Linked DNA regions of Homo sapiens: all the other regions are linked to region 1. The links are contacts of gene promoters, found by promoter capture Hi-C in human tissues and cell types (Jung and others, 2019). All regions are on one chromosome and are shown on one strand. The core of a region is centred on a gene start or on the middle of the fragment in contact, and the rest is flanking DNA. Distances in the headings are between cores, read along the strand shown.

Region 1 (3,628 bases), core at 632-3,131:
AGCGCAAACCCCTATGCTGAGCTCCATCTACAATCTAACCTTTCATGTGTCCTCTTGATCTTATATGAATTCTCCCTTGCACCAAACTGGGTATTCTCTTTAGTGTTCTCTAAATCCACTTTTCTGCATCTACACTTTTGTTTATTCCCTAAACGCATGTAGAACGCTCTTTCAATTTATCTTTACTTATCTCAATTCTATCTATATTTCCTAGTTCCTCCATGAAACTTTTCCTGATGTATTTTATCTGGAAAAACTCTTCCTCTTCTGAATTCTTATATAGAACTTACTGGCCAGGCACAGTGGCTCATGCCTGTAATCCCAGCAATTTGGGAAGCCGAGGCGGGCAGAACACCTGAGGTCGGGAGTTGGAGACCAGCCTGGCCAACAGGGCGAAACCCTGTCTCTACTAAAAATACAAAAATTAGCTGGGCGTGGTGGTGCGTATCTGTAATCCCAGCTACACAGGAGGCTGAGGCAGGATAATCGTTTGAACCCAGGAGGCGGAGGTTGCAGTGAGCCAAGATCACGATATTCTAGCCTGGGCAACGGCCTGTTTTGTCTCAAAACAAAACAAAACAAAAAGAACAACAAAAACTTACTGTCTTTATATAATTCATTTGGCACTGTTTTATGGCACGACATCATTGATCAACTATATTTTTGCTTCTATCTCAAACCTTTCTCAGGCCGTGTTTTTGTTTTTGGCAGTGTTCTTGTTGCCTAGCACAGTGCCATCTCACTTATTTGTTGATTCTGTTTCCTTAAAAACAAAGATGAGACCAATTCAAATCCTCATTACTGCGGGCAGCAACAAATCATCCAAACTCTGGCACTTCCAGTTCTTTCGAGCTTTCCTACCAGGTCGGAGGGTTGTCTTAAAACTTGAGGGAGATGAACTGAGTAAGCGATTACACTGAAAGCATGGGAGGGAAAGGACGTTCCAAACGTCCAATCCATCATCCTTTTGCAGCCTCTTAGTCACTGGGATTTTGAAATCTCTTTCCAAAGACTAGCTATGGCCCTAAATTGGAAATAGGCTACTTGAGAACACAGTGGATTCATAGTTCATCTCGGGCAGTTTTAGGAGAAATGCCACCAGCTTCTGCGTTTGAAGGCCAAGGTTAGCTGTTCATGGCGTGAGCACCTTCCTGCTTCCAACCTCCGGTTATCTGTAAATACCCAAGTCCTCTAATTTAGGACGCAGGTCATGGGAAGACGCTGGTTCTTAGGGCAGAAGTGAGCTCACATTCCCAGCATTTTTCTTAAACTTGGCAGAACTGCACTTTAACAAATTAAAATCCATGTGAATGAAAAGGAAAACTTAAGTAGGAAACAAACTTAAGCTTGAGTCAGTTACAGCATGGTGAGGATGTCGGTTACAGCAACACTCAGAGACCGATGAAGGAGAAATTCCAGTGGTGGGCTGGGAGACCGTCTCCATTCCAACTCCACCGCTTTTCTCTACAGAGACCCACGCACGCCAGCTCCCGCCTCAGTCACAAGGGAACGCCCGCGTGGGCAGGCAATCGTCCTTGGTGAGCCGGGATCTCCTCACCCCGAGAGCCGCAGGCTCCGCTGACGCCGGTACAGGTCTCGCTGCGACTCCCTCTGGGCGCGCGGAATCCTGGGACTTGTGGTCCCTTCCGCGCGCTGTCCGCCCTAACCGGCGCAGAGAGGACTACACTTCCCAGGATGCGTCGGGGGAAGAGGCCACAGGGACAGGCAGAGGGAGGGGGCGGCCCCAGTCCTCCGGGGCGTCGCTGTTTCCAAGCGGCGAGATCTCGCCTAGTAACCGGCAGCTGAGGTTCACTAGCGCGGCGTTGTGGCCCCGCCCCCGGAGCCCCGGCTGGAGGAAGAACCTGTCTCCCGCGGCGCCCCAGTGACGAAGTCCATCCCCGGGTGCGGGAGGCGGGGAGGGGAGGGCAGGCAGAGGATTTCGCTCGCTCGCCCGCGCGGGATCCGGGACGCGCCGGTGGCGTCCGCTGGCAGCAGAGGTTAGAGGCAGAGAGCGCGCGGATGCTCCGCGGGCGAGGCTGGTTCGAGAGTGGGAGGAGTGCAGGGCGCCGCCAGGGCGGCAGTGCGCGCGGGCCGAACAGTCCTGAGGGCGGGCATCCCTCGCGCAGCGCGCCGACCCCCGGGACGTGTGCGTCTGTGGGGGGTTGCTGTCCCCCGGGTCCCTCGGGCGACCCCTCTCCACGCTGGGCTCAGGGCAGGACCCGGGATTCCGTGGGACCCGGTGTTTAGCGCAGAGGTTTCTGGGGAGAAGTACACGATTTTTGCCACTTGTTATTTGATTTCTCCTCGACCAGGAGCGTTTGTAGGTAGCGCACTCCCTCCGACTGCACTAGTGCCTCGTTTCTTCCGAGTAAGACAATCTTTCATGATGCGGATTGGAGTTGCTGATCAATGAGAGCTGCTAAGTTCTTTATGGCTTTCTCGGTGAAGAGAAGGTTCACGGAGGATATGATTATTAAACACACACATGAAAACTAATTGGAGCATCTAAAAAATGACCATTGCATATTCGCCCTCGCTTATTAGGGAAACAGCAAGCGTTCCTTCAAATCGCATCAGCAACTGCCAGGCAGCAGCATTTACGCATATTTCATATCATTAAGGAGATGGAACTGGAGAGAGAAAGCGGGAGTAGGGGACAATTTTTAAAAATACCCAACTTGGTTTAGTTTGGGGATAATTTTCTTGGATTGGGTGACTTATGCGAAAAATCTGTTTCTTTCTTCCTCGCTCTCGCTTCCTGGATATAGACTGTCAATTTCGGATCCAAAGACGGCGATGGCAGAGCTCACCCGGGTTGCCTGTCAAATCAAGGCTATCGCAGAATAAATCCCGCCGCCTGCCGCGAAGCCCCGGCGCACCGCAAACTTCAGTGAGCGAACTGGGTGATCGCTGTTGGGATATGCAGATTCCTGATGTAAAAGGCGGGGTGGCCCCCCCGAGAGCCTCTCCCGGGGGCCGGAGCCCGCAGGTGCAGTGAGGCGCGCGCGCCGGTGCCGGCGCCCCCAGAGCCGCCTTGCCCGGGTAGAGGGAGCCCGGCGCCCGGCGGGGTCTGGCGGCCGCACACCGGCGGCGGCGGCTTGTCTGCGGCGGCTGCAGCGGATGATGGTGGCGGCCGGCCCGCTGGGCTGTGCCTGTGTGTCGCCGCGGAAATCAGCGCCCTGCGCCGCGCGCTGAGCCCCTGCAGGTCCGCCGCAGCCCCAGCCTCGGCGAGGACGGCCCCGGCGCGCGGGGGGGCGGGGGGCGCGCGGGGTCGGCTTATCATGGCGGATCGGACGGCGCCCCGCTGCCAGCTCCGGCTGGAGTGGGTGTACGGGTACCGGGGTCACCAGTGCCGCAACAACCTGTACTACACGGCAGGCAAGGAGGTGGTCTACTTTGTGGCTGGGGTCGGGGTGGTTTACAACACCCGCGAGCACAGCCAAAAATTCTTCCTGGGACACAACGACGACATTATCAGGTAAGGGGGTGGCCAGGGGCGGCGGGGAGGGGTTGCGTGTGGAGGCTGGGAAGGTGGGAAGCGGTTGACCTGGGGTCGGATCCGGGAGCCCCGTGGAATAGAGGATTCTCTCTGGAGCCGCATGGAATTACTGAAGGGCTGCTGATTCTA
Region 2 (3,628 bases), core at 686-3,185, 220 kb after region 1:
CCCCCTCCCCTTTGGATTTCCCAAGACATTCTAAAACCATTGGAGCATTTTATGCCACATTTTGGAAGCTGAAGAAAGCTGTTTCCTCCAAGGACACTTTGAACATTGTCTGATGAACACGACTCAAAACAACTTCAAACTTGAATTTCTTGGCTAGTTGGAACTGAGTTTCCCCACACTCACACCCACACCCACACCCCTCTTTATAGAAACTGGTTGGAACGACTTGGTTTCTCACAGGCTGTCCAAGCCTCACTCCCCAGTTGGCTCTCATGTTGTACTCATCTTGGGTTGCAACTGACTCGTGACCTCAGTGGTTTCAGAAGCTTCCCTGAGCACTTTGGCCCTGAATGCTCTTACACATTTCAGGTCATTGTGTGCTCTGCTCCACCTCTTGCTCTGTCAGCCCAGTGCCTTGGGGAGGGGGAAAGGAGGGACAAGTACCCAGGCATTGGCCTGCCTTGCGGGTCTGTGCAGGGCAAGAGCCCGTGTCAGGATAAGACTCCCCACATCTTTAGTTGAGTCTAAGCTTTCTCTTCAGCAGCCCAGCGCTGGGCAGTGGGATGACAGCAGGAATTGGCCTTCCCATGATCCTGCCCTGCCCACAGAATGTGCCAACTGTTTCCACAGGGGGTACAGGGTTGTGACTCTCCCCACAGGCACTGAAGAGCAGGGCCGACTTGTTACTCAACACCAAGCCCCAGGCTGGAGTTCACAGCCTCTCCCTGGGCTTCCTGCCTTCACTCTGTCTTCTTGGCAGGCTTCTCCTGCTCTCCAGAGCTTCGGCCTGTGTGCCACCCTCTCTCCTGATTATCCAGTTTGTTTGCTGTCTTGCCAGGCTCCCTCCTTAAATTTCTTGCCAATGGAAGCTCTTTCTCCTTTGTTCCCTGACCCTGCCCCCCTGCCCATTCTCCTCAAAGCCTACTTGCCCCACCAGGCCCCTTTGTGTCTCTGCTCCTCCCACCTCCAGTCTCTCACCCCCTCACCTTCCCAGATCTTGGCCCCACTGGGTCTCCCTGCCAATGCCGGGTTGTGCCCACAGCCTTCCTCGCACTCCTGTCCTGTGCCAGCTGGGAATGACCAACTCTAATGAGCTGATTGGACTGAAAGTGAGTGAATGTCCTCATGCCTCCACTCCTTCCCACCTCAGCAAAGCTTTTCAGAGTCCCATTTCTGATGGAATCTGAATCTAGAAGGATTTAGATCCACGGAAAACTGTTAAACCTCCAGTGTTTGGCTACGTGTGAAGTCTCTGGCAGTCCCTCCCACATCTGATGTTATGAACACTGTTTATAGATGCCTGGAAAGAAGCTTTTAATACTTGTATTGTGTTTTAACTTGCTTTCCTTTGGAGGCAGGGAATTGTCAAGTAAGTATTCACACCGCTCTGGAGACAAACACAGGTGTTTGGTGAACATCCAGTACTAAGTGTTCACGCAGAATCCACAACCGCGAAGGGTCAATACTTAAAATCCGCTGAATTTGCCACAATGCAGGTTTCTTCCCCTTGCTCCTCTCATCTTCAGTTTTGAAGCAATACAGCTGTAAACATATGCTTGCGAAATGAGAAAGAAACATTGAGATTGCTTTACCTTTCGGTTTTTTTCTGAAAATCAAGGTGAAAAAAAAAAGCATCGGATTGCGTCTGTGTATATATATACAATCTCCTGTATATATAAATACACGGTGTTTGTGCTTGTACGCATACTCTATATTCACTGTATAATATATTACATATTATACAACCTGTGTGTCCCCTGAAATCGAGCCCTGTGTTTATCCTCAAATAATGCCTTATGAGCCATGCCATAGTTCCAGTGTCCTCTTGCTCTCCTCATAGCCCCTGGCTTGCTTTTGTCATACACTTAAACGTTCTTAGGTGAAAGAAGAAACCCACGGATTTCATTTGAAAGTCCCACTAAAACAGAAGAAAGAGCAGATGTCCTGGGAAGCGATAATTAATGTGAAGGAAGTGTCTAATTGTGAGAACTGGCATGCCCCCAGTCTCCCGATTTTGCTCAATTTGGTGGCGATGATGTCAGCCGGGGGTGTCGTTTTGCAGAGATGTGCTGTCTACCCATTCTTCAGTGGTGATTATAATACCGTTTGGTCCAATTATCACTTATGATTACATAACGTGTTTTGATTGAAGAGTTTCTGAGAAAATAAAGGTACCCTGTCTTCCCCTGCACACAAAAAGAACCCCCGCAAGCCATTCGAGCAGGCAGGCTGACCTACCAAGAAACACTGGGAATTATTAGGCTAAATTATGAGTTGAACTTGATTTGGAAACAAAGTATCCATTGTACATAACTCCCCACGACATCCAGGAAGATGTCATTGTTTTTCTGACAGCAAGTTTCTCCCCAGCACACTCTAAGCAGAGTCCCCGGGCGCATTCGTAAAGTCACGGAGAGTGTGCGGGAAGCATTGACAAAGCTTCCTTTTCTCTCCCTATTCTGTAGGCGCTTTAGTGCAGAGTTTGCCCAGAGACGCCAGGGTATGAGCTTTCTGAATTTGTAGACTGGTGCACTCTTTCATTTCTGTTTTAGTTCTTTGCTGGCATGCTGGGGAAGCATGGTGTGTGCCACACAGGAATGTCTGTTCACTTGGAAAATGCTTGTGCATGAATGAGGTGGTTGCTAATGCGGCTCTAAACTGTACTAAGTTTCTCACTTGGCTTTGTTTGCTGCTTTCAAGGGGATCAAGGTAATCCTTCTCTTTGCATATCCCGGGAGCAATAACTAATTACTTTGGAACATGCGGTGGGAGCTGGTACAGTTCTTTCTCGACCCATCCATAGAGAAATCTGATTTAAGGAAACCCCACGTCACCAAGAACTGGCGTACTCCTCTAGGATTCCATTAGGGCTTACACATTATAAAATCTCTTCATTAAATTTGGAGGCCCCAGACCCCAAAACGGAGGCGGGAAAAGCAACCTTTGGTGTGGTAGCAGCTGAATGCAGACCCGAGTCCTGAGGCGAGGGCGGAGTGGGAGGCGGGAGTGCTGTCTGTCTCCTGTCCCTCTGCTTCCTGCCTGCCTGTCTGAGAAGTGAGGCCGACCTAGGCACTTGGCCTGTGGTCCTTAGGGCCCTTTCCGCAGCCTGGCTTGTAAGTGCCACTTCACGCCACACCATGGCCATCGACAACTTAATTCTGAACAACATGAGCACATCCCTGTCTGAAAAAGGTCAGCAAGTCCAGGAAATGTGGCCTCCCGCCCCTCATGGTCAGGCTTCTCCTTGGTTTTGAACCAAGCCCCTCTTGTTTCAAGCCCACATGTTCTTCCTGCTCCCCCTGCTCCCAGGAGAAGGTTAAGCAGAGGGAGGAGGGCTGACCCTGACCACGGTGCCTCAAGCGTGGGGAGGCCCAACCCAGTGCCTGTGAATTCAGGCTGGGTCCCGTGGCAGGCGGGGAGTGAGAGAGGAGGGCAGGACTGAACAGATCCAAGTGGAGGGGCCTTTGAGGCGGGAGGAGAGAGGAGGCCGGCACTGGCCTAGACAGGCCACACCGGGAAGGCAGCCTTGCAGCCCTTGTTCAATGCTGTGCTTCCTCTGGCCGCTCTCTCTTCCAGACCACCCGTTAGCCGAGCAGCTCCCCAGCCTGAGAAACTGCAGAAGAACAAT
Region 3 (3,628 bases), core at 693-3,192, 220 kb before region 1:
CTTTATTTTTAAAAATCTGGGCCAGGCGCGGTGGCTCACGCCTGTAATCCCAGCACTTTGGGAGGCTGAGGCGGGCGGATCTCGAGGTCAGGAGATCGAGACCATCCTGGCTAACACGGTGAAACCCCATCTCTACTAAAAAAACAAAAAATTAGCTGGGCGAGGTGACGGGTGCCTGTAGTCCCAGCTACTTGGGAGGTTGAGGCAGGAGAATGGCGTCAACCCGGGAGGTGGAGCTTGCAGTGAGCCAAGATCGCGCCACTGCACTCCAGCCTGGGCAACAGAGTGAGACTCCGTCTCTAAATAAATAAATAAATAAATAAATAAATAAATAAATAAAATCTGAATGCAAGACTGTATGTGTGCTTGAATAATTTGAATCCTCTCTTGGCCCTGGGACCTTCCCCGTGCTACATGTGCTTTCGGAGGTTGTGAGGAAAGGGCTGACCAGGCCATGGACCTGTCCCAGAGCCGGCACCCTTGAGCATGGCTGCTCAGACAGCAGTGAAAATTTGTCTTAGAAATTTGAAGTTGCTTTTGAAGCTTTTTGGTCAGTGAGAGAACTTAAAAATTCTCATGTAAATATAATTTAAAAAATATAGATGACTCAATCTACAAGAGCTTATCTGTTTGGTTTTTTTTTTTCTACTTATAGTTTACATTTGAAAAAATTTACCACTTGATGAACTGAGTAATTTTTTCTTCTTGATAGTAGAGGAATTGGTAGGGAAAGTGCTTCTAATACTCTTCGAAGCTGAGAAAATTTTAAGTATAAAGTTTGTTCATTAAACATTTGTGTATTGTTGTCTGGGAGCTAGACACTATATTTAGGGATACATTGATGAAAAAGAGAGAAATACCCAATAGTTCTTGGAGAGTACAGTATACTTTCAGGCAAGATAGTCATTTAATAAATACACAGGTAATTATTTAAACACCATCGTAGTGCGTGCTATGAAAAAACAACAAACCAGTAGGAACATAGAACAGGAGAGGCCCTGGGCTGGGACTAGGGGTTTCAGAAGAGTCTCTCCAGAGAAAGTAAAGTTTAGGTTGATCTGGTTCTCTCTCTTTTTTTTTTTTTTGAGCAACAAGACTGTTTATTTCACCTGGGTGCAGGCAGGCTGAGTCCAAAAAAGGAGTCAGCAAAGGGTGGTGGGATTATCATTAGTTCTTACAGGTTTTGGAATAGGCGGTGGAGTTAAGAGCAATGTTTTGGGGGCAGGGGGTGGATCTCACAAAGTACATTCTCAAGGGTGGGGAGATTATATAGAACCTTCTTAAGGGTGGTGGAGATTACAAAGTACATTGATCGGTTAGGGTGGGGCAGGAACAAATCACAATGGTGGAATGTTATCAGTTAAGGCTATTTTCACTTCTTTTGTGTATCTTCAGTTGCTTCAGGCCATCTGGATGTATACGTGCAGGTCACTGGGGATATGATGGCTTAGCTTGGGCTCAGAGGCCTGACATTCCTGTCTTCTTATATTAATAAGAAAAATAAAATAGTGGTAAAGTGTTGGGGTGGGGAAAATTTTGGGGGGTGGTATGGAGAGATAATGGGCAATGTTTCTCAGGGCTGCTTTGAGCAGGACTGGGGCAACATGGAAACCTAGTGTGGGAGAGATGAAGCTGAAGGAAGATTTTGTGGTAAGGGGTGATAATTGTCGGGTTGTTAGAAGAAACATTTGTCGTATAGAATGATTGGTGATGGCCTGGATATGGTTTTGGATGAATTGAGAAACTAAATGGAAGACACAAGGTCTGAATAAGAGAAGGAGAAAAACAGGTATAAAAGGACTAAGAATTGGGAGGACCCAGGACATCTAATTAGAGTGTCCAAGGGGGGTTAGTGTAATTACTTGCTTGGTTGGCAAGCTTTTAGGCTCTATCTTTGAGTTTTTTTTAATGTTGTCATATACCAGGCCAGATTGATTTAGGTAAAAATAGCACTCTTCATTTAAAAATATAGAGTCCCCTTTTTTTTTTTTTTAGCAGTAAGTCGAGACCTTTGTGATTTTGGAAGAAAGAGAAATGCAAAGCCAGCAATTGTTTGTTAAAGAAGGATTAGAAACGGCTAGGAGAGAGTAACTGAGATTGATAGTGTGATAGAGATAGCTGGGGAGAGGTAGAGGGTGGCATAAGAACGGGAATGAGAATAAGAGTAAGTATAAAAGTAAAGAATAGGACTTCATCAGGGTGAAAGTATTGGAGGGTACCTTGCCACTGAAGATCTTCTATCCACTTAAAGAGAGACTTAAGGGTGGCAGTTTGAGGAAAAACCAGGTGCCACTGAATACCAACAGCCTGAGAAACTGCTTGGGTGATTTGACTAGTAAAGGCCGGTCCGTTATCGGACTGTATAGAGGTGAGAAGGCCAAACCGAGGAACTATGTCTGACAGAAGGGAATAAATGACCACGGTGGCCTTCTTAGACCCTGTGGGAAAGGCCTCTACCCATCCAGTGAAAGTGTCTACCCAGACCAAGAGGTATTTTAGTTTCCTGACTCGAGGCATGTGAGTAAAGTCAATTTGCCAGTCCTGGGCGGGGCAAATCCCCGAGCTTGATGTGTGGGGAAGGGAGGGGGCCTGAGAAATTCTTGAGGAGTAGTAGAATAGCAGATGGAACACTGAAAAGTGATTTCCTTGAGGATAGATTTTTGCGATGGAAAGGAAATGAGAGGTTCTAAGAGGTGGGCTAGCGGGTTCTAAGAGGCGGGCTAGCGGCTTGCAACCTACATGGAAGAGGTTATGAAATGACGAATAGAATGGGCCTGTGAGACTGGAAGGAGATTTTTCTTTGGTCCAAGAACCATTTGCTTTGTGTGGGAAGAGATGGGTGGAAGTTTCAGCGAGGGAGTAGGTGGGAGTGGCCAGATGAGAAGGAGGAAAACTGCCCTGAGGGATAGAAGTTGGAACGCTAGCTGCTTTTTTAGCTATCTTATCAGCATAGGCGTTGTCCAGAGCAATGGGATCTGAAGCCTTTTGATGGCCTTTGCAGTGAATGACTCCGGCTTTCTTTGGAAGTAAAGCAGCCTTGAGAAGAGTTCTTATTAAAGAGGCATTATTGATGGAGGACTCTTGCATAGTGAGGAAACTTCTTTCTGCCTATATAACAGCATGGTGGTGCAGGATATGGAAGGCATATTTAGAGTCAGTATAAATATTGATGGGTAGTCCCTTTGCAAGAGTGAGGGCTCAAGTTAAGGCAGTGAGTTCAGCTTGCTGAGAGGTAATGGAGGGGGGCAGAGCGGTAGCCTCAGTGATAGATGTGGAAGATACTATAGCATAGCCTGCCTTTGCTGGTGAGTGGCGATTAGGCCTGGTGGAACTGCCATCAATAAACCAAGTGTGATCAGGGTGAGGAACAGGAAAGAAGGAAACATGGAGAAAGGGAGTGAATGTCATGTGGATCAGAGAGATACAGTCATGGGAGTCAGATGTATCCGGAATAGTGTGGGAGGCTGGATTGAAGTCCGGGCCAGGAACAATGGTAACTGTGGGAGACTCAACAAAGAGTGAGTACAGCTGAAGGAGCCGGGGAGCAGAAAGTATATGCATCAGGTGTGAGGAAGAAAATAGATTTTGGAAGTTATGAGAACTATAGAGAGTGAGTTGAGCATAGTTT
Region 4 (3,628 bases), core at 529-3,028, 170 kb after region 1:
TTCAAACATGCAAAGAAAAGCCAAAGCTCGTTATTTTAATGTAGATGCCCGTGTGGATTTTAAACCATTTTCTAATTTAATGGTCCTGTTAGATGTGCTTAAAATTAGACCAAATGCATGCTTTTAATAAAACTGTTACTGCTTCCATCCAAACTAGAATCTTATTTCCTATTTGTCTCTTACAGAGGACATAAAGATAAGATATTTGTGGTAAAGTGTAACCCACACCATGTTGACAAACTGGTTACAGTTGGGATAAAACACATCAAATTCTGGCAACAAGCAGGTACTGTCGTTTGGGTTTATCATTTATGTGATTGAGAGCTTTACCCTAGCTGGAAAGAAAAACAAAACAAACTGTTGCTACTACCTCGCTTGTCTCTGCAATCTAAAATAAAAATGTGCCTAAAAAAATTATCTCCCAAGTTCGCTTAGAACGCTTGAAGCTTAGAACACTCTATATGACGCTATGCATATTCATCAATACCTAGAAAGCTTTGGAAAATGTTCTGCTGTGAAAATAATCATTTTTATATTTAGTCATCTGTTCTGAAAGCAGTAATTATGTTAGACTACTGCACAGGAAATAAAATAATCATTTTGGTTGAGTGAATAAAATTTTATCTATTTGGATGGTTCCTTTATTTATCTATTACTGAATTTAAACCTGAATTAAACCCTGAGTCTGCCCACAAATAGGTGGTCCAATAAATATTGGTGGATTTAATGTTGATAATAATGATGAGTAAATAAGCATGAGAAAACATAGAGGATATCTCATTCTTCTCACTAATAAGTCAGACTTAATACAATTGAATCTGAATTCTTAGTATCAGCTTTGGTGCCAAGCCCTAACTTATTATGCACAAAATGTGAATAAGGTTCTGTTCCAGTGCATTTTGCTTTTAAAAGAAGGTAATGCCACCCAGTATGTCTGGAGAGCCAGCCTGTGTGTAGCTGTCTTGAATAAAGCTGGGTTTCTCAGTGACAGGGAGTGTGGGGAAATGTGAATGTGTAAGGGACAAATCTAATGGCTTGTCCCGTATACTACCTTTTCCTACAAAACAATTCTTTTTTCTCACCCCAAAATAGCTGTTATAAATAAGCAGAGCATATATAACATGCTTATATTTTACATTTACAGTCAGTACTATTTTTATCGTTTTTGGTCAGCATTCATGAAGACTTTGCTTGCTCCTTCAGGCACTTAGTCACTCTTTCTCTTGGCTGACACAGAACTTGTGCTGAGCCTCAGTTAGACGCATGTCTTGGACTGAGATGCATATTGATTGCTCTCTCCAGCCAGACTCTGAGTTCCTTGAATACAGGAACCCTCTTTTCATCTTCATATCCCAACAGTGAGCGCTGCACTTACCACATGTAGGGATTCAGTAAACACTGAGTTAATGAATAAATGAGAAATATTCTTAGAATATTTTTGTTCATGATGTTCTCTGTCACTTTTAGACATCTTTACATAAATACCTAATGAGAGACACCAGGTTTCTCATGGAAGTAGTCCTTCTACATGCTTATAGGAAGTGCCAGATTTTATAAAGTAATAACTGTTCTTGGTCCACTCTAGGTGGGGGCTTCACTTCTAAAAGAGGAACTTTTGGAAGCGTTGGAAAATTGGAAACAATGATGTGTGTTTCTTACGGACGAATGGAAGATCTAGTGTTCTCAGGAGCAGCTACTGGAGATATTTTTATTTGGAAAGACATTCTACTACTGAAGACAGTGAAAGCTCATGATGGGCCTGTGTTTGCTATGTATGCACTGGATAAGGTATGGCCTGTGTATCAGCATTCATTTTCCTCATCAGCCTTCTAAAATTATAAGGTAGTCTTAGGATGGCCCAAGAGGATGCCTGTATCTAAAACAGGCCTGTCTGAATTAGGAAGTAGTTGTCATAAAGCTCAGTCAAGAGACAATAGGGAGGAAAGCAAAGATATTTTTATAATTTCGTTTACAGTTGTTTCTTTATATGCAACTTCTCTGCACTTTTTCCACACATGCTCTTCCTGGCGCCCACTCATGAGAGTCCCTTAAGAAGTGCCAGGATAAATGTGGACACTTAGCAGCAGAAGAGTCCTGAGAAATACTTCAGCATTGTCTTCCTCCTTGGTGACACAATGGGCAGAGACCTGAAAGTACCAAATGGTTACATTATTGTTCCAGACGTCCATTTGCTACGATAAATTTGCATCCATAACCAACTTGCTCCTGTGTAGAAAGGCTCAGCTTTAACAAGAGTGTTAGAGTGAAGGCTGTTCATTGGCCATATTACAATTCAAGCTCATCATAATTGCCCTGGTCTGTCTACTTGCCTTGCAGTGTCCCTCTACAAAGATTACACTTACCTTCTCTCAGTCTGTTTTTGCTGCTGTAACAGAATTTCTGAGACTAGGTACTTTATAATGAACAGAAGTTTATTGGCTCACAGTTCTGGAGGCTGGGAAGTCCAAGAGTAAGGGGCTGCAACAGGGAAGGGCCTTCTTGCTGTGTTACCCAATGGCTGAAGGGCCAATAAGAGTGGGAGGGTCCGAAATCATCCTTTAGTAATGAACCCACTCCTACAATAATGGCATTAATCCATTCATGAGGGCAGACCCCTCATGGTCTAGTCAACTCTGAAAGTTCCCACATCTTAGTACTGTTACAGAGGCAGTTAAATTTCAACATGAGTTTTGGAGGGGGCTAATATTTAAACCATAGCACCTTCAGTGTTTTAAAACACTTTATTCAATCAACTTGCCAGCAAATATCAACTTCTTTTCAGTTATTTCCAGGTTGCTGGTAGTACCACTTCATCTGTGCCCTCTGACCTCCAGTTGAAGCCACCTACTACTCCTAACCCATGTCTCAATTTTCTTTTACCTGTCCTTAGGCAAATGTGTTGATTCTACTACAAAAGTAGGTTCTTGTTAGGTATGCAACTGTAACGGTTGTTTTGCTGGCAAAGGTGTTGTTTTGTTTTGTTTTGTTTTTTTATTGGTACATATGTTTTTGGTTAAACTGCAAGTATTAGAAAAGATTAAAGAAGAAGAAAGAATTTCTGTAGGCCCAGAAGTAGATATGGTGTAACTTGTTTAAGCTCTTGTTGTTTGGTAAATTAAGCTGCAAAATCATGAGAAAAGACAAGGATATCACAATATAATATATTGCATTTTAATTTAATTTGGGGATTGAATTTTCCTGGGTACAAATTCTATATAAGAATAAGGATATTTAGTGTTATACACTTGGAAATATTATTTCTTTGTAAACTTCATAAAAATGCATTAAATTAAAAGTTGCTAAGAAAGCAGTGAATTACTCAGCTTTTTTCTTAGAAAAAAAAAAAAACCTCTAAGAACAGTTGGTATATATAATAAATTACCAGAAAGGAAAACTAGTACAGCCAAAAAATTATAAGCTTAGAACAGGAATAAAGATCACTGTTCAGTAAAAAATATCCAATATGTTAAGCTTTTTACTTTCCAGGTTTTTGTAAAAATTAATCTGGATTTTAATTATGGAAATTGTGTCTATTGAATGAAATAGGATCGTTTCATTATATAAAGTACCTAAGCTACTCTTAATAAATAATGATGTTTTCTTCTGGACATGACTTTTATTTTTAAAT

What was found. The method cuts DNA at HindIII sites, captures the fragments that hold promoters and counts their contacts. A contact is called where the count stands out against the background at its distance.
Region 2: a fragment that was not itself captured here is called in contact with the fragment with the promoter of EML6 in region 1 in 2 of the 25 tissues and cell types used here (hippocampus and psoas muscle).
Region 3: a fragment that was not itself captured here is called in contact with the fragment with the promoter of EML6 in region 1 in 1 of the 25 tissues and cell types used here (spleen).
Region 4: a fragment that was not itself captured here is called in contact with the fragment with the promoter of EML6 in region 1 in 2 of the 25 tissues and cell types used here (hippocampus and mesenchymal stem cells).

The regions. Positions count from the first base shown.
Region 1 is chr2:54,721,781-54,725,408 of GRCh38, forward strand. EML6 (EMAP like 6) reads left to right here and starts at 1,882. Exons shown (of 42, transcript NM_001039753.4): 1 at 1,882-1,997; 2 at 2,769-3,478. The coding sequence starts at 3,282. RefSeq lists an enhancer at 1,415-1,634 and silencers at 1,775-2,264, 2,936-3,085. The HindIII fragment of the contact is 12,546 bases long and covers 1-3,628 here.
Region 2 is chr2:54,945,306-54,948,933 of GRCh38, forward strand. It overlaps EML6 (EMAP like 6), which reads left to right. Exons shown (of 42, transcript NM_001039753.4): 29 at 3,577-3,628. Among named protein-coding and RNA genes, the nearest start is that of RTN4, 100 kb to the right of the region's middle. The HindIII fragment of the contact is 3,016 bases long and covers 428-3,443 here.
Region 3 is chr2:54,505,824-54,509,451 of GRCh38, forward strand. All of the region lies in intron 1 of SPTBN1 (spectrin beta, non-erythrocytic 1), which reads left to right. It also overlaps the pseudogene C9orf85P1. Among named protein-coding and RNA genes, the nearest start is that of SPTBN1-AS1, 51 kb to the right of the region's middle. The HindIII fragment of the contact is 3,437 bases long and covers 225-3,628 here.
Region 4 is chr2:54,890,869-54,894,496 of GRCh38, forward strand. EML6 (EMAP like 6) reads left to right here. Exons shown (of 42, transcript NM_001039753.4): 18 at 186-286; 19 at 1,586-1,788. Among named protein-coding and RNA genes, the nearest start is that of EML6-AS1, 140 kb to the left of the region's middle. The HindIII fragment of the contact is 3,331 bases long and covers 114-3,444 here.